Regions from separate parts of the Homo sapiens genome. Here regions 1, 2, 3, 5, 6 and 7 are each linked to region 4. The links are contacts of gene promoters, found by promoter capture Hi-C in blood cells and fetal thymus (Javierre and others, 2016). All regions are on one chromosome and are shown on one strand. The core of a region is centred on a gene start or on the middle of the fragment in contact, and the rest is flanking DNA. Distances in the headings are between cores, read along the strand shown. Region 1 overlaps RGS6 (regulator of G protein signaling 6). Region 2 overlaps RGS6 (regulator of G protein signaling 6). Region 3 overlaps RGS6 (regulator of G protein signaling 6). Region 4 holds the start of DPF3 (double PHD fingers 3). Region 5 overlaps RGS6 (regulator of G protein signaling 6). Region 6 overlaps RGS6 (regulator of G protein signaling 6). Region 7 overlaps RGS6 (regulator of G protein signaling 6).

Evidence for each region. The method cuts DNA at HindIII sites, captures the fragments that hold promoters and counts their contacts. A CHiCAGO score of 5 or more calls a contact.
Region 1: a fragment that was not itself captured here is called in contact with the fragment with the promoter of DPF3 in region 4 in 10 of 17 cell types (total CD4 T cells, activated CD4 T cells, naive CD4 T cells and 7 more); the score reaches 11.2 in total CD4 T cells.
Region 2: a fragment that was not itself captured here is called in contact with the fragment with the promoter of DPF3 in region 4 in 2 of 17 cell types (activated CD4 T cells and total CD4 T cells); the score reaches 7.6 in activated CD4 T cells.
Region 3: a contact is called between a fragment that was not itself captured here and the fragment with the promoter of DPF3 in region 4, in 15 of 17 cell types (monocytes, naive CD4 T cells, total B cells and 12 more). The highest score is 16.3, in monocytes.
Region 5: a fragment that was not itself captured here is called in contact with the fragment with the promoter of DPF3 in region 4 in 3 of 17 cell types (activated CD4 T cells, total CD8 T cells and total CD4 T cells); the score reaches 6.9 in activated CD4 T cells.
Region 6: a fragment that was not itself captured here is called in contact with the fragment with the promoter of DPF3 in region 4 in 16 of 17 cell types (activated CD4 T cells, naive CD4 T cells, naive CD8 T cells and 13 more); the score reaches 14.1 in activated CD4 T cells.
Region 7: a contact is called between a fragment that was not itself captured here and the fragment with the promoter of DPF3 in region 4, in 16 of 17 cell types (total CD8 T cells, naive CD8 T cells, naive CD4 T cells and 13 more). The highest score is 37.1, in total CD8 T cells.

What each region holds. Positions count from the first base shown.
Region 1 is chr14:72,453,949-72,457,212 of GRCh38, forward strand. It overlaps RGS6 (regulator of G protein signaling 6), which reads left to right. Exons shown (of 18, transcript NM_001204424.2): 4 at 580-630. Among named protein-coding and RNA genes, the nearest start is that of MIR7843, 61 kb to the right of the region's middle. RefSeq lists a silencer at 2,584-2,786. The HindIII fragment of the contact is 845 bases long and covers 1,246-2,090 here.
Region 2 is chr14:72,420,513-72,424,080 of GRCh38, forward strand. The region is part of intron 3 of RGS6 (regulator of G protein signaling 6); the gene reads left to right. Among named protein-coding and RNA genes, the nearest start is that of MIR7843, 95 kb to the right of the region's middle. The HindIII fragment of the contact is 3,861 bases long and covers 1-3,409 here.
Region 3 is chr14:72,547,349-72,550,395 of GRCh38, forward strand. The region is part of intron 17 of RGS6 (regulator of G protein signaling 6); the gene reads left to right. Among named protein-coding and RNA genes, the nearest start is that of MIR7843, 32 kb to the left of the region's middle. The HindIII fragment of the contact is 1,343 bases long and covers 1,121-2,463 here.
Region 4 is chr14:72,892,385-72,895,893 of GRCh38, forward strand. DPF3 (double PHD fingers 3) reads right to left here and starts at 1,717. Exons shown (of 11, transcript NM_001280542.3): 1 at 1,673-1,717. The coding sequence starts at 1,704. RefSeq lists an enhancer at 1,677-1,971. The HindIII fragment of the contact is 4,463 bases long and covers 1-3,509 here.
Region 5 is chr14:72,437,294-72,440,668 of GRCh38, forward strand. All of the region lies in intron 3 of RGS6 (regulator of G protein signaling 6), which reads left to right. Among named protein-coding and RNA genes, the nearest start is that of MIR7843, 78 kb to the right of the region's middle. The HindIII fragment of the contact is 259 bases long and covers 1,658-1,916 here.
Region 6 is chr14:72,493,815-72,497,210 of GRCh38, forward strand. RGS6 (regulator of G protein signaling 6) reads left to right here. Exons shown (of 18, transcript NM_001204424.2): 13 at 1,338-1,448. Among named protein-coding and RNA genes, the nearest start is that of MIR7843, 21 kb to the right of the region's middle. The HindIII fragment of the contact is 5,151 bases long and covers 1-3,396 here.
Region 7 is chr14:72,528,411-72,531,842 of GRCh38, forward strand. All of the region lies in intron 15 of RGS6 (regulator of G protein signaling 6), which reads left to right. Among named protein-coding and RNA genes, the nearest start is that of MIR7843, 13 kb to the left of the region's middle. The HindIII fragment of the contact is 496 bases long and covers 1,477-1,972 here.

The DNA of each region.
Region 1 (3,264 bases), core at 418-2,917, 440 kb before region 4:
ACCCATATTCTATTGGCAGAACTCAGTCCATATCTAAGTGCAGGGGAGGCTGGAAATGTAATCTAGCTATGGCACAGTGAGGAGAGGAAAGAGGTCTTGGTGAATACATAGACGTTTCTGCCACAAATGCAGGGACACATTCATTCAGGATAGGCCTGTGCCGGAAGAGATGAGAGTTTTGCAAGAACCTATGAGGTCACCTGTGTTGGTCAGCCCTTGTAATTGATGGTAGGGAGCTGATGAGGCCTCCTTCTTCAAGAAATGGTCTGGGGGCCAGGCATGATAAAGCTTCACCTAGCACGTCTCAGGGAAGTCCTCTATAGACACTTCCTAGAAACATGAATATAAGCTCATCCTGCATCATCAGAAGTGAGTGTTTTTTGGACAAGAATGGAATTGTAACTATGGAAGTGTACTGAAGAATGGAAAGGGTTGGTTAGGACAAAAAAAAGTGCCCATATTATCCTGCTCTACAGTGTGGACTGTTTGGAATTAGGATTCTCTTAGGTAAACATGTTTCTTCTGCCACAGTGTTAAACACCCAGGAGGTCTTCAGCTGAAATTGCTTTATCGTTGCAGGTACTGACATTGTGCAGTGGCTTATGAAGAACCTTTCCATTGAGGACCCAGGTACTTGACCTTTGACCCCACCCTTATCTCCCCTGGTATCAGTAAACATCCCATAACCAAGTTCCAAACTAGATTCCCCTGCCCTCCTGAGAACTGGTCTTGTAAATGTGAATTCCAAGACGTGGAATCACTCTATTTACAAATAAAATTAATTTATTTTCTCCACTGAATATTTGTCTTTAAATTTAAATCATGCTTTGAGGAAATGAGCAACTTTTTAGAATGCCAAAGAGCCCAATACAATAATGTGTGAAATGAGTTGAATTCTCATTAGCTGCAGCAATTAAAGATAAGTTGTAGCACTGTCACTGAACAGCCTTCTAGAGCCAGCTCTTAAAATTAGATTGCCTGATCCACAATTAAGATGTTTAATTATTTGCTAAGACTCCCTCTGTTTTCTGCTTCTGCAAGAAGTGAAGGAATGATTTTTTTTCAACTTTAATTGCGCATTTCAATTAGGAAGACCTTACCAGGAAAACAACAACAGAACCCTGGCCAATAAAACAATTTCCCAGTCTGTTCTCCCACCAGAAAATAGGCAGTAAAATTTATTTTCACAGTGTAATTAGGAAATGGGGGGGGTGTTCCAGAAAAATAAAAATTCAAGATAAGTAAAGCTTATTCCCATGTGCTGTCAGTTAATACTTTTCCGAATTTATTACATACTCCTTTGCCTTGATTAACTGAGTATTCTTGATGCCTGAAGGTCACATTTATAAAGATCCACTAATACACTCTGATGTTCTTAATGGACATTGGCGTGATTAGACTTACCTGCCCCAAATTAAATGGCCCTGAACCACAATGCTTTTTGAAGATTTTTTTGAAGTGCCCATTCTGCATCCGTGACCTTCAGCTGTGAGTCCCTGCTGGAATCGGTGTGTCAGCTTGGCACTCCTGTATTTTAACCCAACATTTCTAATCTGTTGACTGCAAAACAATACAGTTTCTATGCAGTTCAATTATATACAGTTGTTAGAACTCTGAGTGCCAGAAAAGCAGATCATTCATAGAAGTGGCCCGAGTCTTTTCACCCCCTTGATTAGTGGCTACTCTCACAACTAGTGAAAATTCTTAATTCTAGTCAAGTTCTTGATTCACAGGGAAAAAACTATAAATGCTAACCCTTTGTAAAGGATAGAACCCAAAGCAACTCACTATGTGTTGTCCCTGATGCAGCCTGTACTTCTGAGTGTCCGCTTGGAAAGCCTGGACTGAATCAGCATCTACCTGTTTAGTTACATTTATCTAAAGTCAGTATTTCTTGTGATTATAATGCTAAACTAAGGAACGTGTTTCCTCATGGCCACCTTTTCTCTTCCAAGAGCACTGGTTTCTTTGCCTCCTAAAATAATCGTTGTATTTCTGACATATATTTTATTATTACTATTATGAGAACCCTAAATTGGCGAGCAGTATGTGAGAATGAGCTTCAGGAATCCTCCAGCCCTGGCGTGAGAAGCTTCTGTGAAGGGTCCTGAATGATGAGAGTTATTTCTATGAAAATCTGTTATACTCTGATGCCCTTGGGAAGACATCATGGTATAGGGGCCTGTTTGGGCTTCTGAGAAGTGGCTGAGGAGAAGCTAAGAACCATTTGTCAGCTGGGAATAGTCTAAGGGGGGAGATGAGGCAAACCGAGGCCTTGGGAAACAGTCAGATCCAGCATCTGCCCCTCTCTCCCTTCTTTTTCCCATCAGTCGATTTCCTGTGGTTATTTTTTGGTTTTTGAGGCAAGGTCTCACTCTGTCACCCAGGCTAGAGTGCAGTGGCACGAGCATAGCTCACTGCAGCCTTGACCTCCCTGGCCCAAGCCATCTTCCACCTCAGTCTCCCGAGTAGCTGGGACTATAGGCTCCTAGCACCACATCCAGCTAATTTTTTGTTTTATTTTTTGTAGAGATGGGGATCTCACTGTGTTATCCAGGCTGGTCTTGAACTCCTGACCTCAAACAATTCTTCTGCTTTGGCCTCCCACAGTGCTTGGATTACAGGTGTGAGACACTGCACCTGGCCCCATTGGCCAACGTCTAAGCAAAAACATTTTTGCTCAGAGAATGAAGTTAGAGTCTTAGCTCCAAGACTGGTGGCATGAAAGTCACCTTCCTACAGGATTTTGTTCTTTCTTCTCTGGGGAAGGAGCAACTGCTGATGATGAAACTTCTGTTCTAGCTGGACTCATGGTTCTTGAAGCATATGGACTTTAAAAAGCAAACCGGCCAGACATGGTAGCTCATGCCTGTAATCGCAGCTCTTTGGGAGGCTCAGCTGGGAGGACTGCTTGAGCCCAGGAGTTCAAGACCAGCCTGAGCAAGATGGCAAAACCCTACCTCTACCAAAAAAAATAAAAAAAAAATTAGACAGACGTGGTGGCATGTGCCTGTGGTTCCAGCTACTTGGGAGGCTGGGGCAGAAGTATCACTTGAGCCCAGGAGTTCAAGTCTGCAATGAGCTGTGATCATGCCACTGCACTCCAGCCTGGGTGACAAGAGTCAGACCTGTCTCTAAAAAAAAAAAAAAAAAAAAAAAAATAGCAAATTGGTCATCACTAAGCAAGTAAAATAAAACTCTATTCATTCCAATTCCACCAGTTACATGTATGTTTCTTTCAAAGGAGAATAGGTGGTTCTTGAT
Region 2 (3,568 bases), core at 229-2,728, 470 kb before region 4:
CCCTTCAGCTAACCCTGCCCCCACCCCCATCCTTTAATAAACGTAAAACTTTTCTTTCCTGTGAATTCATTTTTTTCCCTTTTATCTTTTGGACCTTTGCAATTAACATATTAATATTTAATTCATATTACCTGAAGGTCCAAGAACACTTTTAAACTCATGAAAAACCTTCACTAGTAATTTAGCTGCTACCAAGGTATCCCTGAGCCCTCATTATTTGCCTCTGGAAAATGCCGTAAACGACATCTAACAGGCTTCAGCTCTGTACCTCTACAAATAAGAAATTAAGCAGTATTCAGAACGCCATTGATTATTAATTTAAAAGAAATCAAAAATCAATATCACATTCCTGTAACCTGGCAGTTTTTCTTAACTGAAGGCAGTTGCCTGCAGAAGCCTTGTGGCTTTCCAGAGCAACGGCGCCCCTTCGTGGTGATAATGTGAACTGCACCCCAGGCGTGATTGAAAATAAGGCAGAAAGGAATGCCGGCCTCGAGCAAGGACACCGGTTCATGCCCAAATCACTTCTGCTTTCAGCCAACAGACTGTTTCTGCCAAAAGATGGACGCAGCTAGATTTTTTTTTTTTTTGTACCGATAATCTGTCTTAAAACTTGGAGAGGATCTCTTTTCCCCTGTGAAGTCAGGAAAATGACAGCAAGCAGCATGGATTGGTTCGAATAATTTTCACCAGAAATGTGGGGTGAGGGGAAGGGATGGGACTGGAGTCAGAGCAGTGATCTGGCGGGATGGGGTGATGAGCCATACGGAGATGAGGTGTGGCGCCACGGGCTGGGAGTCAGGGATTATAGAGTGAGGGTGGGGTAGGATCTTCCTGGTCATCAAAACTATGAGAAATGTAATTATTTACATTTTAAACTAAGCCAAAGACTGTATTGAAATGTCTTACACCCAGAACAGAGAAGTGGTATCACCAAAGTTCAGAATTCCCAGCTCTAACGTGATGCCTTTGGGGACTGCCTCCCCACCCCAGGCTGACCTAACACACCCCTTTGAGAAAAGAGGATTTAGTTTCTCCTGACTGTGAATTGAATATGTGGGATGTGCCCCTCCAGGAGCTTCTAAAATCACCTCTGCTTTGACCTTGAGGGGCCGTGGTAGAGGGGAGACAGCACCGGCTTAGAAACCCCACGGCTCGGCTCTAGTCCCAGCATCAGTGGAGCACCAAGGGGAGAAAGTATTCATCACTGAGGTATTTTATGATATGTATATTGTTCCTGGGCAGTTGCACCCCTTATCGCCTGCACCCTGTGTACAGCTCCCCATTCCTCCTCCCTTGGAGGCCACTGTGCTATGTAACTTGCTGTGGGCTGCAAGAAAGACTGGGCTCCCGTTTCCTCTTCTGAAAGGCAGGAATCATGCTCCCGGCTGACCTCACAGAATCATTCCACAGATTAAATGGCGATATGGCTTGTCTGTGTTCACACTCAAATCCACATGTTGTGGGAGGGACCTGGTGGGTGGTAATTGAATCATGCGGGCAGGTCTTTCCCATGCTGTTCTTGTGATACAGAACAAACCTCATGAGATATGATGGTATCATAATGGGGGGAGGTTCCCCTGCACAAGCTCTCCCTTTGCCTGCTGCCATCTATGTAAGACATGACTTGCACCTCCTTGCCTTCTGCCATGATTGTGAGGCCTCCCCAGCCACGTGGAACTGTAAGTCCATTAAACCTCTTTCTTTTGTAAATTGCCCAGTCTTAGGTATGTCTTTATCAGCAGCATGAAAATGGACTAATACAAATGGGATGTAAAAATAAAATTCTTATATACTTAGAACGGCAATATGAGCTTTACATCTGAGTTATGCTATAATATCAATCAACATATATAATAATATAAAGTAGTATATTTATTATAAGTTATAATAACAGAGTGAGATAGCTTAGTAATTTCTTGTTAGTATCTGCAATCTTGGGGAAAACAAATCTAGAGAAATAAGTCCAAACTGGAGCTGCAGAGTCAAGTGGGCGAGAGAAAGAAGTCTCGCTTTTTTTGTTTTCCAGGAAAGCTCAGGTCCAGTTCAGCAGGCCAGCCCAAGAGACTGGGAGAGCCCTATGTACTCAGGAGAGCAGCCTCACCCCTCGTCCTTGTCCAAGATTGGGGAGTGGGTGCCCACAGCTTGTATGTGTCCCCATGAGAGTGGGTGTCATTATGAGGAGCATCAAAGGGCCAAGCACAGTGGTGACAGATGTGGGGGAATTTGCCATTCTGAGGGCAGAGGAGGTCAAACACAAGTGGACTCGCTTATTAAGCCCAGAAAGAGAACTGGGAGAGGAAGGCCAAGTGAGGATGGAGGCGGAGATCCAGGGCCCATCTGCAAGTCAAGGAGCACCGAGGATGCTCAGCAGCAGAGCCAGGAGAGGGCATGGAGCGGACTCGCTTGCAGAGCCTGTAGAAAGAACCAACTCTGCCGACACTTTGATTTTTAACTTCTGGCCTTCAGAACTGGGAGAGAATAAATTTCCATTGTTTTAACCCACAAAGGAAGAAAAAGACTATCAAGAGTAGAAGGGCCTGACAGGTGGCCACACGGCAGGTGAGTCAGAGAGTTGAGTCACGTGGGAGGTAGTTTAGAAAAGGATTTGTGAAGAGGGCCATCCCCTAGCAGCGTGTTGAATATAGTGAGGAATATGAGATGGAAAAGAATCTTTTTAGAGAACATGGGTGCCAGACATAGCCACAGACAAAGTCGTGAAATAGACAGAAATTTGTCCCATTTATGGAGACTGTGGTTTTCCACCCATATGTCCCCCCACCCCATGTCATGTTTACCTGGCCCTCAGGCTCACGCTGATGGCCCTGGGCTGCTTTTTTCCCCTCAAAAGCTGATGTCTGGTCTCTAATTATAAGATACAAGATGAGATGGAAATAATTGTTAACAATGTATTCATTCAACAATGGATTGTGTAAAAAAAAATGTGGTACACATACACCATGGAATACTACACAGCCATGAAAAGGATAAAGTCGTATTCTTCACAGCAACAGGAATGGAGCTGGAGGCCATTATCCTAAGCAAATTAAAGCAGAGGCACAAAACTCAATACTATGTGTTCTCACTTATAAGTGGGAGCTAAACATTGGGTCCTCATGGACACGAAGATAATAGTAACTGACACTGAAGACTACTAGAGGGGGTAGGGTGGGAGGGGGACGAGGGGTGAAAAACAACCAGCAGGTCCTTTGCTCAGTACTTGAGTGACGGGATCATTTGTCTATCAAACCTCAGCGACATGCAATTTATACATATAACAAACCTGCACATGTACCCCCGAGCCTAAAATAAAAGTCAAAACAAAATATTCATTCCCAAATCATTTACTACATACAAATCGTTAAGTCAGGATCCCTGCTGTGACACTAGGGATTATAGAAGTGTTGAAAGCTTCATTCTCATCCAGTCATTCATTCAGTGCCTGGCTGGGGTTGTGATAAGCAAAAGCAAACCCATCCCTCTCCACATGTAGCTTCCAGTCTCGTGGTGGCATTTCCTCAGAGGATGAAGCCATCCAGGTAGCATAGCAGGCATGAGGTGGTTCCAG
Region 3 (3,047 bases), core at 542-3,041, 340 kb before region 4:
GGACTTCAAAGGCTAAGAAGTAAGACCCCCCCCCGACCCATGGAAGTCCCCCCAAAATGAGCTCCTGGTGGAAACAACAGGGGATGCTTCCCCCTTTTAAAATAGTGATGAGTGTCCCTGGTTTGAGTTGAGTTAGGAAAGCATGACATTTTGGAAGGAGGCCAGGATACCTGTCCATAGGTAGGAATAGCCTGTAAGATGTTGCCCTCCTGCAGTGTGGCTAAATGGGACACTGCCGGGGGTGGGACTCAGAGCAGTGGGATTTTTAGTTTTGTCATGTTTGCCCAAAGGTGGATGAGAGAAAGACCCTTGGGTGTTTGCTTAGTGGCTTCCCAATGGGTGGGAAGGTGAGACGGGGTTGGAAGCATGGAGCCACCCCAGCAGTGGCAGGGCCACAGGGCAGCGGTTCTTCCATGCCCCCTAATCATGGCCACATTGTATCAGCCTGAGCATGAGCAACAGCACCATGGCCACATACGGGAATGGGCCTCATTGGTGTAATATTTGGCAGATTCTCTCCACACCCCCCGTGGCGGTCTGGCTTACTGTTAAGAAGGGTAACCTTAAAAAATACATTTCCCACTCCAGAAAATACTCATATGTGGCCTGTTAGCAGCACAAGAAGGGTGAAAGCAATGCCCATTCCTGCCTCCCTCCCCCTGCTCACCTCCACGTCCCTGTTTGCCCCTTTGTAGGTGAAGTGAGTATATTCAGCGTCTTCATGGCAGGGGAGAGGGTGTATTAATCCGTCTATGTCCGCTGGAAAGGCAGTCTCTGAGCGGGCCACAAGGGTTCAGCCATGGCCCATCCAATAACCTTTTTGATGACTTGGATGAAGAGACAAACATTCCAACCACATTCAAAGATCCAGACCTCCAAAGTGTGGCTCATTTGGTAGATAATGGAATTATATTTGGAAAGCATTTCCCGCAGCTGGGATGATGGGTCAAAAACAGATAGCATTTTACCAGATCATATTTGTGTGTGTGTGTGTGCGCGCGTGTGTGTGTGTGTGTGTGTGTGTTTTAAATTCAGTTTCCCAACTACAGGATGGCATTTGTAGCCTTTCCTAAAAATCAAGTTTAAAAAAAAAAAATTTCTTGGGTTGTAATTGACGATAAGCTTAGTGTAAGCAAATGCAGAATGCAGCTGCTTTCCAAAGGGCAGCTTTAGGCTATATAACAAAAGTGGGAAAGGAAAAGTGTTCCATTGCTTTTTGTTGCTCTAAGCAATATTAAGTCTTGGTTCTAAGCCCCCACATTATCAGGAACTTTAACATCTAGAGACAATTGAGAGAGAAGAGCTAGAGAGAGAAAGTGACCCTGGAAGCCACGTCGGAAGAGGCTGGAGTAAAAATGTCTAGCCCCCCAGCAGACTTGATGGCCACCGTGAGCTCTTTGCATTTGTCTTCAAGAGTGGACACTTCCGGGTTGCTCCAGAGAGCAAGGCTAGAACAAATGGCTAGAAGATAGATAGGTAGATACTAAAAATATTCTAACAATAACAGAATATTCCAACAATAGACTATGTCCCCTCAAAGGGCAACGAGCTCCATGTCTAGCCGTTTAGAAGCTGAATGGCCAAGGATAGTGCAGAGTAGGTTTCTACACCAGATCCCATGATCTTTTGCAACTGGAATTCTATGCTGCCCCAAATACTTGTTAAATGGATCCGACTGCATTTCATTCTGTGGTTTATAAATAAGTCCTGGAAAAGGAGAATGAATTATAAGGAAGGAGTTTGCTGAGATTGGAGGAGAGGGATCTGAAAGACTCAGGACTAGACTCCGCCTTGAGGGAGAAAAAGCCACAAGATGACACACTCAAAGCAAGGGAAACCGTCAGGAAGTGGAATTACTGCCCTTCACATGTCATCCTTGCCTTCTTTTCTGTTTTTTGTTTTTTTTTTTGGCATTTGCTGCCGCAGCAGCTGAGCTCTGGGCAACAGGGCTCTCTCTCCCGAATGTCTGAAAGGAGGTCAGCAAGTGGAGGACACAGGCGCCCACTGGCACAGGGCATTGGCAACCATCGTGCAGTGAGCCCCAGCACAGCCAGGGTGGCCATGTGCGTGGGGCGTCCTGGCCCAAGGTTGAAGAAAACTCATCCTGTCATAGTTCCCATCCGGAAAGGGTGTTTTGTTGAAAGCAAAAAGGATCATAAAGTCATTTGCCTTTTACCCAATGCCAGTTCCAGATTCCAGGTAAATGAGCTAACATCAAAAACACCTCAGCCGGCTGGGCGTGGTGGCTCACATCTGTAATCCGAGCACTTTGGGAGGCCGAGACAGGCAGATCACCTGAGGTCAGGCGTTCAAGACCAGCCTGGTCAACGTGGTGAAACCCCGTCTCTACTAAAAATACAAAAATGAGCCAGGTGTGGTGGCACATGCCTATAATCCCAGCTACTCGGGAGGCTGAGGCAGGAGGATCACTAGAACAAGGGAGGCGGAGGTTGCAGTGAGCCAAGCTTGCACCACCTCACTCCAGCCTGGGCGACAGAGCAAAACTCCATCCCCATCCCACAAAAAACCCCCCAGAGACCTCGGACTGAGGAGAAACTATGCCCCCACCCTGGCTTCCCTCCTCTAGGGCCCTGCCAGGGGGACTTGTCCTCAGCCCAGCTCAGGGAAAGGGAAGGGTTCCCATGTCACATTCTTTCCAGCTGTCCTAAGAACCACCCCGATTGCCGATGACACTCCCTCCTCTCTTGGGCTTCACCAGGGCTGCTTTCAACTCATCGTGGGATTGTGTAATTATGGTGATTACAGCTTGTGACTTTTTTCCTCTCCATCTTTTGCTTTCAAATTCTTTGAGGCCTCTCATTAAACATGGCGATCCCGGTAAAGTCAGCAAAGTTTTAATAAGACACTTTTTACAGCTAAAGAAAGCCCAGTCAGGGTTGATTGCTACTATGTTCTCTCAGATACTCCATTAAAACTCTATCAGGTGCAGTTGGTGCCTAGGTATAAGAGGTGGGGGAGAGGGAAGGCAGGGAGGCAGAGGGCACCTGTACTTAGTGACAGGGCTGGAGAACCATTCCACACCATGC
Region 4 (3,509 bases), core at 467-2,966:
TATCCGAGCTTCCGAGCCAGAACTGAAGCCAGGAGCTCCTATCTGATCAGCCTCAGCTTCCAACGTCCTCTTAACGGCAGCTTTCATATAAATATATTTGAAACCTGGGGCCTTCCTACCCCTTTCCCTATTTCTGATGGGCGACGAGCTGGCGCAAACACGTCCGATTCTCCCTGTGCATTCCTTTGCGTTAGGAACCCCCTACCGTCCCCGGGAGCGAACCTGGTTTTCAACTCCAGGAGTGGCCAGGGGTGAAGACGAGAATGCGCTGAATTAAAAGAACCAGGGTCGACAGCGGCCACGCACCAGGGAGAATTCGGCATGAACCGCCCCCCACCCGACCTGCACCTCCCTCTGCCACTTCGCCTGCGGCTTCGTCCGGGCGGGGAAGTCCCGGTCGAAGGGGTGAGGACCCCCCAGCCCACCTCGGATACGGAGGGAGCCACCCTCTGCCGACATCACCCAATAGCACCCCTTTCAGAGCGACACTAGTTTTCCGAGGCCACCCCTGGCTCCGCGATCGCGAGCGGACTTGGCGGCTTAACAGTTCCACTGACTGGAAGGAAGGAAGGAAGGAAGGAAGGAAGGAAGGAAGGAAGGAAGGAAGGAAGGAAGGAAGGAAGGAAGGAAGGAAGGAAGGATGAAAAGGAGGAGGAAGGCAGGCAGGCAGAAATTGGCTGTTGGACCCGGGGCTGGCCCCCGCGAGTCCTCGCCCGGCCCGCCCCACTCTGTCCAGGATCTGGGCAAGCGCTCAAAGTCTCCCCGAGGCGGCCAGAGGCACCTGCCCCTCGCCCGGCCGGGAGCAGACGCTGCCCCCTCGGGCCAGGAGCCCCAAAACCGCCTCTCCGCCTGCCTCAGCGCCTCACCCAGAGGTGGCGAGAACACCATTCATAAGACCTGCGGCTTCCCTGCCTCCAAATCCACCCCAAGTTAACCCGAGTCGTTAATCCACTAAAGCCAGCTCGCTCGCAAATACACGAGCAGACACACGCTCGATCGCCCGGAGCGCCTCCGAGATCCGGGGGCTGCCGGGGAAAGCCCGGGGCGACCACCTGGGCCCCAGCACGCCCGGGACCCGCTGCTTCCCCCGCGGTGCTCCAACTCCGGAAGGTTTGCACAAACTCCCCGCGAGCGATCGGAAGGCGAAGAGCGCCCTGCAAACTCCGGAGCCTCCGCGGTCCGTCCGCTGGACCCAGCGGACCCAGCGGCGGGGCGGGGGCCGCGGGCTCGGGGGCGCGGGGCTCGGCCAAGTACACCGAGGCGGCCACTGCCCGACGCTCGCCCCCCGCCCAGCAGCCCCCGAAGCCGCGCTCCCTGCCCGCGAGGCGGGGGACTCCGGGGACCGCGCCGTCCCCGAGCTCCCGCGACCCTCCTGCTGTAGAGCGCTCGAGCGCCGGGCTTCTCCGCCTGCAACCCCTATATCTGGCTCTCTCTGCAATTTAGCAGAACACAAATGTAACAATTTTCTTCTTGTTAATTGCATCTCCTGACATTTCTGCGCGTTGGGGGAAAAAAAGAAGATGAAGAAGTAAGAGCTGAAAGAAGAGAGAAGCCCCGCCGCGGCTGGAGGCGCCTGCAAGCGCAATGCTCTGGCAGCGCTCGCCACGCAGAAGGCGCCTTTTTTTTCATATTGAAACCACGCGGAATATGTACATTTTTTAGTCTTACTTACGCTTTCAGGGGGTTGTGAATGACAGTCGCCATTTTGCTACAATGTAACAGAATATTGTCTCAGAGTTCTAAAGGTTCGCTCAGGGGAAGCGACGGGCCAATCACAGCGCGGGATACCGGCCCGCCGGCCAATCGGCGCTGCTGGTAGCTAGGTGGGCGGGGCCTGCGCCGTGGTAGTTATTAGGAGAGCTGTCAAAGCCCAGAGGTCACTCCCTTTTGTAGAGCCCGAGAGCCAGCAGGTCTTAAAGGGGCAGTACAGCGCTGGTAGCTCCTTTTCGGGCTGGGGAAAGTGGAGACGCACGGGAGAGTATTATAGTTTGGTTTAACTCCCTACTTTTCTAAATAACTGCAGAAGAGTTTGCGCTCCCGGACAGAAATATTTAAATATTGCCAGCAAGCCACTGAATCCTATTCATTAGCCTTTGGCTTTGCGTATCAACATTTTTAATCCCCCAAAGGGTAAATCCCCGTGTTTCAGTGCAAAAGTTGGAAGGCTGCCGTTTCGTGTTAACAAATTACTACATGTGCTCTGCCGTTTGCTAATGCTCTGGGTCCTGCCGCTTTTTAATATTCTTATTCCCGAAGTGTTCTCTTTATCTCGGCCACCTTCCTCTCTCGCTTCTTGGAACTGTCGCTGCTGTTCCTGGCGACTCCAGGACAGCAACTCACCCTCCCCCTGGAACGTCTCAATGTCAGGCTCGCTCCCTCCTGCAGCCAGGGCTTTCCTTACGTAGTGCAGGGGGGTTACTCTGCGCGGTTCCCCGCTACCACCCCTTCGGTTCTTCCCTCTACACCAGAAACTTCCAAAATGCTCAGATTCCTGCTAGGTGGTGGGACCTGGAGCTCTGATCTTTAGGCTTAGGGGTAGGGAGGACTTAAGGCAACCTTTGGAAACTTTCTACTGCTAGGAAGCAAGTGACTAGGCAGAAGTTGTAGAGCCTGGACTGGGTGTTATCAGGGTCCCTTTAGAGGAGTGGCACACGCGATTCTGGCGTCACCTTTCACTACTTAGATAGAAGGTGGAAAGAATTTGCTAATGAATAATCCGATGTGACCCGAGGCGTCCAATGAGTCTGTGTCTGCTTCAAGTCAGTGTGAACTCTTCACTGGCGAGCCCCTGACAAAATTGGGAGACTTCTGCGAAGTCAGGCTTCCACTGGGCACCGGGAAGCTCTGGGGGGATGAAATCGCATTAAATCGCGAATAGGGTAGGGGCCTCGTTAGCATACAGAAGTCTGGCTACCATTCCAAAGCTGTTTAATCAGATCAAATAGCTAAGATAGTGGGGGAGGGGTGGCAAGGGGAGAGAAGTTGCCAAATTGCCAGTTCTTCAAAGCTATGCCCTCTCGCTTCCTTTTGCTCCTCTCAAGACAATGAATAAAATAAAATAAACATTCCAGAATTTTAAGAGTTCAACTACATACACTATTAGATTTACAGATAAACAGAACGTGGCTGAATCACTATGTTTTTAAAAGATTTGAAATCTTTAACTCCTCTCTGCGTATTTAAGAAGCAGAATTGAGTTCTATAGATTCCTTTGTAAATCCTTTGCATAGCATCTTGGCAGAGATTACAGTTTGAAAAAGTTATCTCCTTTTCCAAAATTGAAGTTTGAAAAATCCCTTCTTTACTAATTTGACAAGAAATTGGTTCAGAAGCCTATACTTTGCCTGAGGTGGGCCTTGACATCATTGAAAAGCAAGAACTGTATTCTGACCCAAGAAGTATGAGTTTGAATTATCAGTTAGAACTCCCAATAACCTCTTTGAGGTATCAAAGACACAACAATTCAGATTAGTAGACGACAACGTATTTTCTTACATGCAGCCTGATAA
Region 5 (3,375 bases), core at 537-3,036, 460 kb before region 4:
TCATGCCACTGCACTCCAGCCTGGACTACAGAGTGAGACTCCATCTCAAAAAAAAAAAAAAAAAAAAAAGGAAAAAAAAAATCACAACCTAGATTCTGTAAGCACCTACAGCAGCTATCCTTTGCTGGGGTTTCCTCATTCAGCTCTCTCCTCATTCATTATCTGGGTCCTATTGTATTCCCTTTATTAGTTTTAGCAATGTTTAAAATTATTTGCTGCTTGAAATCTAATCCATTTTGCAAGTAACCAGCACCTGGGGGCAGGGGTAGTGATGAGAAAACAGGGCTAAAAGGAATAAATTCACAATGAGTTTTATATTTACACCATCCTTTTCCCATTCACAGGGTTTTCCCATTTGGGAACATTCTTAGCGTGTTCTCTGAACAGAAGACCGTTTCTCTTGGTCTGAAGTTGATCAATGTGAGAGGAAGATGGCACATTAGAAAGATGCCTGGCTCTGATGACATTCCACCCCGCAGTCTTCCAGCACACTGGGATCTGGGGCTTGAAGTCACTTGTCTGGCTGTGTGACTGTATCCACTTGGAAGCAGCGTCCCCTGCTCCTAAGTTGCACAAGATACTTCAGGGAGTCTGCTGTGATTTAGTGATAGACAAGTCAGAAAACAAGTTTAAACTTGTTATTAATCAGAAGAGAACACAGACATTTTTAGCTGTCTATCTGACTTGGTCATAGGGCAGAGCCATCAGATGCCATCAGTGGTGGTCGGTGTAGATTTTTTTGTGAATCAAGACAGGAGCAGGAAAAAGGGGGGTGGAAATAACAGACAGGTTCCAGGAGGGCCTGGTGGAGGGTTCAGCTGTTGGAGCTCATTTTTCTTGCTTTTTCCCGAGAGAGGGGAATGGACTGCCATTGTCACAGGTTAAGTCACAGAAGAGTGAAGCTCAGGTGACAGGAGACATTCCAAATTGAGAACAGACATGCCAGGGGTCCCTGTTGCCACCTGCTCACAAGCCAAGGCCTTGGTTCCGAGCCCCTCTTCTCTCTCTGCATTTTCTCCTTGGGTGACCTCATCCAGCCTCGCTGCCTGAAGTGCATTCCTACACACCAGTGACTCTCAAATACTATCTCCAGCCAGCTCTCTCCCCACAAATCCAGATTCAACAGCCACTCCATGTCCCTACTCAGATGGCTCCTACAGACCTCAGGCGAAACATGGCTAGCACGCAAGCCCAGGTGTCCTCCCCATCCTGTTTTCTCATCTCAGTTGATGTAAGCTCCACCGTGCACCCAACTAGTTAAGCTAGAAACCTGGAGTCACTCGAGACTCCTCTTTTTCTCATGGGCAAGCCCCATCCATCAGAGAGGACCAGGAGCCTTGCCTCCAAACCCATTTGCTTCTCTTGATTTCACCATATCACCTGTGCCCAACCAGCCTTCCATTTCTCTAACCCAGTGGACACAGTTCCAAACTGGTCTCCTTGCTTCTACTCCTCTCCCTTTACAATCCATTCTGCACTCAGCAGCTAACATCTTTTAAAAACATAAACTGGACCCCTTACCACTTGAAGCCTTCCAGGACTTTCTATTTCTTTTAAAACCTGACACAGCCCCTGCCTTCCTGGTCTCCTCTCCACTGTGTTCTGTGTGGCCAACCTCCAGGCGTACGAGCCTGCCTCTTGCCCTCTGGACAGATCAAGCTTGCTTCCTGCCTTGGAGATCTGGCCTTGGCTGTTCCTCTGATGGGGAGGCTCTTCCTCCAAAGAGTCACACGACCATCTCCTTCTTGTTCCTGAGTTCTTTATTCTCAATGAATGAAGTTTATTGCACTCCCCTCCCCAATCTCAGTAGTCCCCAGTGATCCTCTCTCCCAACTCCCATTCTAGCTTCATTATTGCGCTGTTTTTCCTTGGTTTCATGCAGTTTCCTTGTTCATTGACTCCTCCATTACAGAGTAAGCTTAGAGAGGTCAGGGACCACATCTGTTTCTGTCTCATTCCCCACTTCAGCACAGAGAACGATATGGGGCACAGTAGGAGCTCGATAAATGCTTTAGTGAATGCATAAACAAAGTAAGAAACCATGAGGTGACCCAAACCTCGGTTTCTTCAGTTATAAAATGGGCACATGGGTGCAAAGGCTCAGGTGTATTGTAAGGGTGAAACGAGAGGTGATGCGTGTGAGGCCTTTGTGAGCTCTAGATCTCTTTGTAGATGCAAAGTATCAGTGTAGATTGCAGTAACCAGGACATCAGAAGAAAACCCTGCTCTTTGGAAGCAAAGTGTGCCAAATAACAAAGCTTAGCTCTACAAGGCTATCGCTAAGCCTATGCAATAAATACTTTCTCTCCTCCACATCTGAGCTGGACATTCTCCACTTGTCCCTCCAGAGCCACTCTCCACCCTTCTTACCTGCCTCTGTGCCTCACGGGCTGTCACTACAGCTGCCTCAGTAAGCTCCCTTGCCCTCTGGGTACAAGGCTTCAACTGATGGGTGACACCAACAGGAGATCAGAGGGGAGGAGAGGGAGACCAGGTAACTTATTCCCTGGCAGACCTTCATCAGAGAGTAGCTGTGTTCTGCTGAAGGCTGTGGCTTCTGTCTGTCCACCTTCTCCTAGAAAGACCACATCCTGTGGGTTCCTGTAACTGTTCCTCCTTGCTACCCCATTCGACCTGAGGTTGGAAACTTCCTCTAGTTGTTGCTCTAGCCGCAGGCTGCTCCACAATCCCTAACCCACCCAAACCTTTGTCTAAAGCACCTTCCTTACACCCTCCCCAGCTGTGGCATTTCGGGGCCCTGTTAGCATCCACGTGATGCTGCTTTCTACAAATGTGTCTATTTGTGGTGACAGCACTTGCGCTTTGCTTTCTTCCCTTTCTTATCCTACCTGATATCCCAGCCTTCTGCCCCTCAGCTACAAGACCACTCCATAACCATAGAGGACCAAAATCACCTAGGAGCTTGAGAGAGAAAATGTATTTGACATCTTGAAAATAATGCAGTTTGCTCAGGGGATTTATTTCTCCCTCCCCTGGGCTCTGCGCTCAGACCCTCTTTGCTTCTGTCCGACTACTGCAAGCAGGCAGTTAAGATTATTTCTAGCAAATGGACTTAGAGAAGCTGAGCATATGAGTGATGTTGAAATTTGACCTACACTTCTTTTTTTTTTTTTTTTTTGAGATGGAGTCTCGCTCTGTTGCCCAGGTTGGAGTGCAGTGGCATGATCTCGGCTCACTGCAGTCTGCCTCCCGGGTTCAAGCGATTCTCCTGCCTCAGCCTCCCATGTAGCTGGGATTACAGGTACATGCCACCATGCCCGGCTAATTTTTGTATTTTTAGTATAGACGGGGTTTCACCATGTTGGCCAGGCTGGTCTCAAACTCCTGACCTCAGGTGATCTGCCTGCCTCGGCC
Region 6 (3,396 bases), core at 479-2,978, 400 kb before region 4:
GATTTTTCACCTAGTGTTCTATGTCTAGCACTATCAGTCAAGTATGGAGATAAAAGCATTTTTAGACTTGCAAGGATTCTCATGCATCCTTTATTACGAAACTACTAAAGGATGTGCTTCAACACAATCAGGGAGTAAAAGCAAGAGATAGACATGGAATCCAGGAAACATGGGCTTTTCAACACAGAAGTGAAGGAAGTCCCAAAAAGATCATTTTCCATCAAGTCTATAGAGCAAATGATCCAGTTTCGAGCAAGAAGACTAAAGACTTCAGGAAAGAGGATCTCTGGGAAACAAGAGGACAGAACTGCTCAATTATTTGATGTGTTTAAGGTATAAAAAAATGATTGCTAGATGTTTTACAGGTTTGTTAAAACACTTGCTTGGAAAAAGTAGTATGATATTTAGCTGAACAGCAAACAATTTTTATCTAGTTTAATAATGTTACACTGACCATTGATTTAACAAAAATTGTAACACAAATCTATTTGGAGGATCACGTAAGAAAAGGAGGGAGTTGAGGACTGGTGAATAGAAAGATAAATTCTTGTCTAAAATAAAAAAATCAGGAATAGATATAAAAGCGTATAATTTAGAAATATATAGGTAGCTTTTAGAAAAAACATAAGGTGGAAAGTAGATGCCTCTCTGAGAAGGGATGGGAGGAAAAAATAATTGCTTTTGCTTTTTTAGTATATATAATCATTTGGTACTATTTTATTATTCTAACTATTCACATACATTTTGATAAGAATAAAAATTAGTCTAAAATAAATTATATCAATCTATAAGATCAACATATCTATTAGATCATAATTATAACTAGAAAAGTTGCTTTTTTGGAAAAAAATGCAAATGTTTACTCCTTGTGGTCTGCTGATATTTAAAAGTCTTTATCATAAGAAAGTCCTTCCGTTGGGAATGCTGAGCTGGCAGTCTGGTGGAGCTGTAGTGTCTTTTGTGTGTTCCAGATGCCTCGAGAATCAGTCTTTGTGGGAGGGTGGAACACAAACAGTTTTGACCAGTGTATTAGTATCAGTAAGGCTAGCATAACCAGGGAGAGATGCACCAAGGTTCAGGTAAAGAATCAAGTGAGGAAAAGATATATAAAATGCATGTATATATCATGGCTGCAACAGTGCAAAAATGGTATGTTCGTTATAAGAAGGAAATAAGGACAAATGAAAACAGTTTGATGTGTCAGAAGTGGGAGCGGAAATAAATTTTTTCCTTTAATTTAGAATTATGTGAAGACTGCTATAATGTTTGTGTAAAACAGAATAAAGGGGTTTTCTAAGGAAATCAGTGGCATTCTTTGCTCTGCCTCCCTCCTGCAGTTTAATTGCCTACACGGAACAATATGTGGAATATGACCCTTTGATAACACCAGCTGAGCCATCCAACCCTTGGATCAGCGATGACGTTGCTTTGTGGGACATAGAGATGAGGTAAAAAATGTTTTAAGGTTTGGGAGTGGGATGAATGTAGACAAAAATCCATGAGATCATGAGATTACCTTATATTCTATCTTAATTTGACATTTTTTATCGCTAGAACAGAAACCCCTCAAGTAGCCTCCCAGCTGAGTTCTACTTACAGTTTCTACCTCCTTATAGCTTTGATTTGTGCATGGATCCTTTGTGGCTCCCCTCTGACCCTTTGGATACCATGATAACTGAGACAGTCCCTCACCATTCCCTAGTTCTGATTGCTGGAAGAAAAGAATCTGTTGTTCCAATTTTTTTTCCTGTTAGACAGCAACAATAATGATAATAGCTGGCACGTATTCTGCATTGGCCACATCCTGCAGTAAGTGTCTCTCACTGAATCCCCTCGACAGGTAAACATTACTATTCTCACCACTCAGCAGTTATGGAAACTGAGGCACAGAGGAGTTAATGAACTTGCCCAAGGTCATACTGCTAGTACAGCAGAGTTAGGACTAGAACTCAGGCAGAGGGCTCCAGAACCATGATTTCATCACTCTGTTCTTCTGGAGTAACTGCCAGCAACGATTCCAGCCAGTTTCTCCTTCCCTGTGAGGGAAGCCACTGTGTTTACTTAAGAGGGGAGGAACCAAAGCCCAGAGGGACTTGGACCACTTTCAGAATTACAGAAGGAAACACACAGACAAAGCTAGTGTGGTGTGCCTTCACACCCCCTGCACCTTGGCTGGATGAATTTTTATTTCCCTTTTCATGTCTCTGTCACTCACATTGTCTTTCACTTTTGCCCCTTTTCTGGCTGCTTTTCCTGAAATGGAAAAAATCTTATAAAAATAATAAAAGTCGCAGATGCTCATTCTAAAAAGTTCAAATTATCCAGATGTGCATAAAGAAGAAAATGCTCTCTTCCTCCAACCCGATTTCACCTTCCAGAAAGAACCTTTGTTTATAGTCTAATGCTGTGGTTCCCAGAGTGGATCAGAGCACCCTGAGCACTGTGGGGAACTCACAGAGTTACCACTGGATAGTCCAAATTTTTTATGGAAACACAGCGATGGTTGACACATGGCAGATACTGCATAAACTACTAGCTTAAGATGGTTCAGTTTCAACATTAGAGCACGTTACATCCCTTATGATGATACGCATCTTTGCAAATCTGGCTTTTCGGAGCAGTCACTATGATAAAAAGCAAGAACTGCACAAAAATTAACATGGAATAAGAAATAGGGACGGTAAGTTCCAACCTAATTCCAAAATTTAAGAAAATGCGTAGTGCCCAATAGGTGCATATTGTAGTTATTTAAGAATGAAAACAAAATTTTCAATTTATGTGTCTTTCAAACAGCTACTAAGTTGTTAGGATACAAATACATATTAAGTTGATTGGTCCTAGCCATAATAAATGACACTGTTAAGTATTTCTTTTGGCCCAGGGGCACTGTGAAAAACTTACTGAGACGCTAAGGGTACCATGAGCTCAGCAAATTTGGGAACATCTGATTTAGTGTCTATTACTTTGGATTTTTATGCACATATAACATTCTATCCTTTTGTATAATTGGGTTCAATATATATACCCAAATATGTACATATATATATATAGTCCAATAATTTTTAAATTAACAATAGGTCGTGGCAGTCTTTCCATGTAAACACATATAGATCCACCTTACTCTTTTTAATAGCTACATACTATCCCCTGGCACCGGTGAAGTAAGATTTATTTTACCAGTACCTGGATCATAAATATTTAGCTTATGTCCTCCTTTTTTGCCACCATAAACAATGATTCCGGGAACATCTTTCTACACAAGTTCAATTATTTCATCAGTATATATTTTCCAGGAGTAGAATTCGTAGAAATGGTATGCATATTTTAATTTTAGTTCGTAGGTCCAGATTCCTCTTGAGCAAAACTGTAACACATCTTTTTCATTCCCTTAGCTTA
Region 7 (3,432 bases), core at 475-2,974, 360 kb before region 4:
CACTCCAGGGATATGATGCCTCCCACTGCTGAGGACTCTGGCTAAGACACTGGTGTGATTTAGAGCCCTAGAGCATTGGTTTATCATCATATAGAGAACCACCCTCATCTTCTTTGGAGGAGGTGCCTCTCCACTGCATCCCAAGGTGGGAGTGACCTCTGGTAGTTCTGCTTGTTCATAGTCAGCTTAGTCATCTCTGTTGTAGAAAGAGAAAGAGAGAGAGGGCAAGAAAGGGAAAGACGGAGGGAGAGAGGAAGGAAGTGGGAAAGGAGGGAAGAAGATAAGGCAAGACAAAATAAGACAAAGCAAGAAAGAGAGAGAGCACGCGGGCCAGCACGCTTTTTCTCCATCCCCTTAGGAATTTACTCTCAGCAGGGGCTTGGCTTGGCTGGTTTTGCCAGTGACTCCCTTGCACTTTGCAGATTCTGAATATACATTTCCCTTAAGACTGGTTGTCTGCAGAATAGGGGAAACAAACCAGCACCCCCATAAATCAGCAGAGGTCACTGCCAAGAGCTTTGTACACTTGCTGTCCCTGGCAGTGATAAACTCATTGCATTTGGGAAATGGCCAAAGACCCTGAGTCCAATCTTAATTCTCATTCCCAGAAAAATCTCAGTTTTCTGTTCACCCACCCCCGTTTACTGTCTTTGTGTTTCCTAGACAAAGCTGGCAAGGAGGAAAGAACACAGTTCAATAACTGGATCATCAAAGGCTGCATTTCGTTGCTTGGGGGAGGAGTTGCAGGGCAGGAAAGAGTCACAGATCCCTAGGCTGTGGAAAAGAGAGGCCCAGGCCAGAGGGAGGCTGAAGCCATGGGGTCTGCATGGGGTGTGAGAGATCCGCAGAGGTTCTCAGATTCTGGTTTTCTCAGACCCGCACCTTGGATCTGCTATTACTGCTGTGGTCGGTTGTTCCCTTGAAGGGTGGTTCAGGCTGTTATAATGGTGGTCAAGGGCTAGCAGTGGGATTGGTGTGGTGAGACCACCTCATGGGACTCATGCTCCAGTAGGTTGTGTTCTTATTCTCTTATCTTTCTCCCCACACCATCCTCACCTTGGTATCTGGCTTTGGAGTTGGCCATATGACATGGAGAAGATGAGAGTGGTGTCCAAACTGCTCCTCTGACCCACATGGGCCTCCTGAGAGTGGACAACCTCTCTCTGCTGCCCTTTCCTCCTTGCCCCTTGATTGTCTTTCTCCTCTGATTGATCAGACTGTGAAGCTGCAAGACCAGACCCCCCCCTCCCTGCAATCCCACAGAATTAGGAGACATATTTCTGTCTCTCTACACAGATCTTTCCACTTTGATGAGGATCTTTCTGGTTGAGAGACCACCATTCCCCACTTGTAGCAGGATAGGTCATCCCCAGGTATACACATTCATACCCTGTGCCTGTACTTCATCTCTGCAGCCCTTAGCTGAATTGGCTAAATGCGTCTCTGTGCAAAGTCTATCTTGCCTAGTTGGATCTAAGCTTTATGACATTAGAGGCCGATTTGTCTTATTCAGGCTGTTATCTCAGCGTCTGACACAGTGCCCTGGCACCTAGTAAATGCTCAATAACTATTTGCTGAATATTATTTTGATTCAGTGTTTAGACATCTGCTTTATCCTGCTCTATTTTGATTGACAAGTTCTTTCTCTTCATGAACCAGGCTTTTCCCTCCTACAATGAGTCTATAAGAATTAGCTAGATCAGAGGGGAATTTGGTGCTGAGCCAGAAGAGCTGTCTAGGGGAGGTTTCCTCACTTCTTATGGGGCAGCAGAGGGGTATTGTGAGATATTGAGAAGTCAGAACAAGAAGCAGGGAACTGTTGCTTTGGAGAAGGGTCTGGAGAGGTTCCAGGCACTATGATAGGCTTTTCCAGATGACTCAGGAGCCACCTGGCTCTGTCAGCCAGAAAGAAGTGATGCCTGACACAAGGAGACAGTGTGTCATTTTTACTGTGGACTAACATTTGTACCTAAGCTTTAAATGTTAAAATAATTTGGCTGGGTGTGGTGGCTCATGGCTGTAATCCCAGCACTTTGGGAGGCCGAGGCGGGTGAATCACTTGAGGCCAGGGGTTTGAGACCAGCCTGGCCAACATGGTGAAACACCGTCTCTACTAAAAAATATATAAAAATTAGCCAGGCGTGGTGGTGCATGCTTGTAATCCCAGCTACTTGGGAGGCTGAGGCAGGAGGATTGCTTGAACCCGTGAGGTGGAGGTTGCAGTGAGCCAAGATCACACCACTGCACTCCAGCCTGGGCAACAGAGCGAAGACTCCATCTCAAAAAGAAAATGTTAGAACAATTTAAAGAGACAACAAATGAAACCAAAGACCAATGATACCCCTCAGCCTGGGCTCTGAGACCATTAGGGATGGCTGAGCCAAGATTTTCATGCTCCTCTGAGCTGAGTGTAATCCTCATTCTCCTTCTGTGCAGAGAGCAGGAACTTGATGCAGTCATAAACCCAAGCAAGTATGGAGCCAGTAAACTTGCTGAACATTAAATTCCAACCGGCATTTCAGTGAACATGTATATTCGACTAATATCTGAGCCTGTGCTAGACAGTATGCATCTGTAAAAATAAACACATACTGTTCCTCAAGGCACTTAAACAAGAGTGAGCTGGATTTTTGTCTGAAATTTTCAGAAAAACACTTAGTGAAGTGTGTTCACACTAAGTTTGTTAAATCAGAATACGTCTGGACTATCCAAGTAGTCTCAGAACCAGGCCACTATTGGAGGCTGGGCGCGGTGGCTCACGCCTGTAATCCCAGCACTTTGGGAGGCTGAAACAGGTGGATCACTTGAGGCCAGGAGTTCGAGACCAGCCTGGCCAACATGGGGAAACCCCGTATCCACTAAAAATAAAAAAATCAGCTGGGTGTGGTGGTGCATGCCTGTAGTCCCAGCTACTCATGAGGCTGAGGCACGAGAATCACTTGGAACCCGGGAGGCAGAAGTTGCAGTGAACTGAGGTCACACCACTGCACTGCAGCCTGAGTGACAGCAAGACTTTATCTCAAAAAAAAAAAAAAAAAAAAAAGAACCAAGTCAGTATTTAATTTCATTTGAGTCCTTCCAGTGGGTTTATTCCCATTAGTGGGGTAACTCCCCTGCTTTTGTAAATATGAGGGTATCTCAGGAAGAATAAGTCCCAAAACAAGATTCTTTGGGTTCCAACCAAAGATGAAACCAAGAGGGCCTCACATGTGACCAAGACATTTTCTGCTTTCTACTTTCACTTTCTTTTTGTTTATTTTTTAAATTGAGATGTAAAAGTTGTATGTATTTATGGTATATAGCATGCAATTTTGATATATGTATACATTGTGGAATGGATAAATCAAGCCATTTAACATATGCGTGGTCTCATACACTTATTGTTTGTAGTGAGAACACTTAAAATCTACTCTCAGCAATTTTCAAGTATAT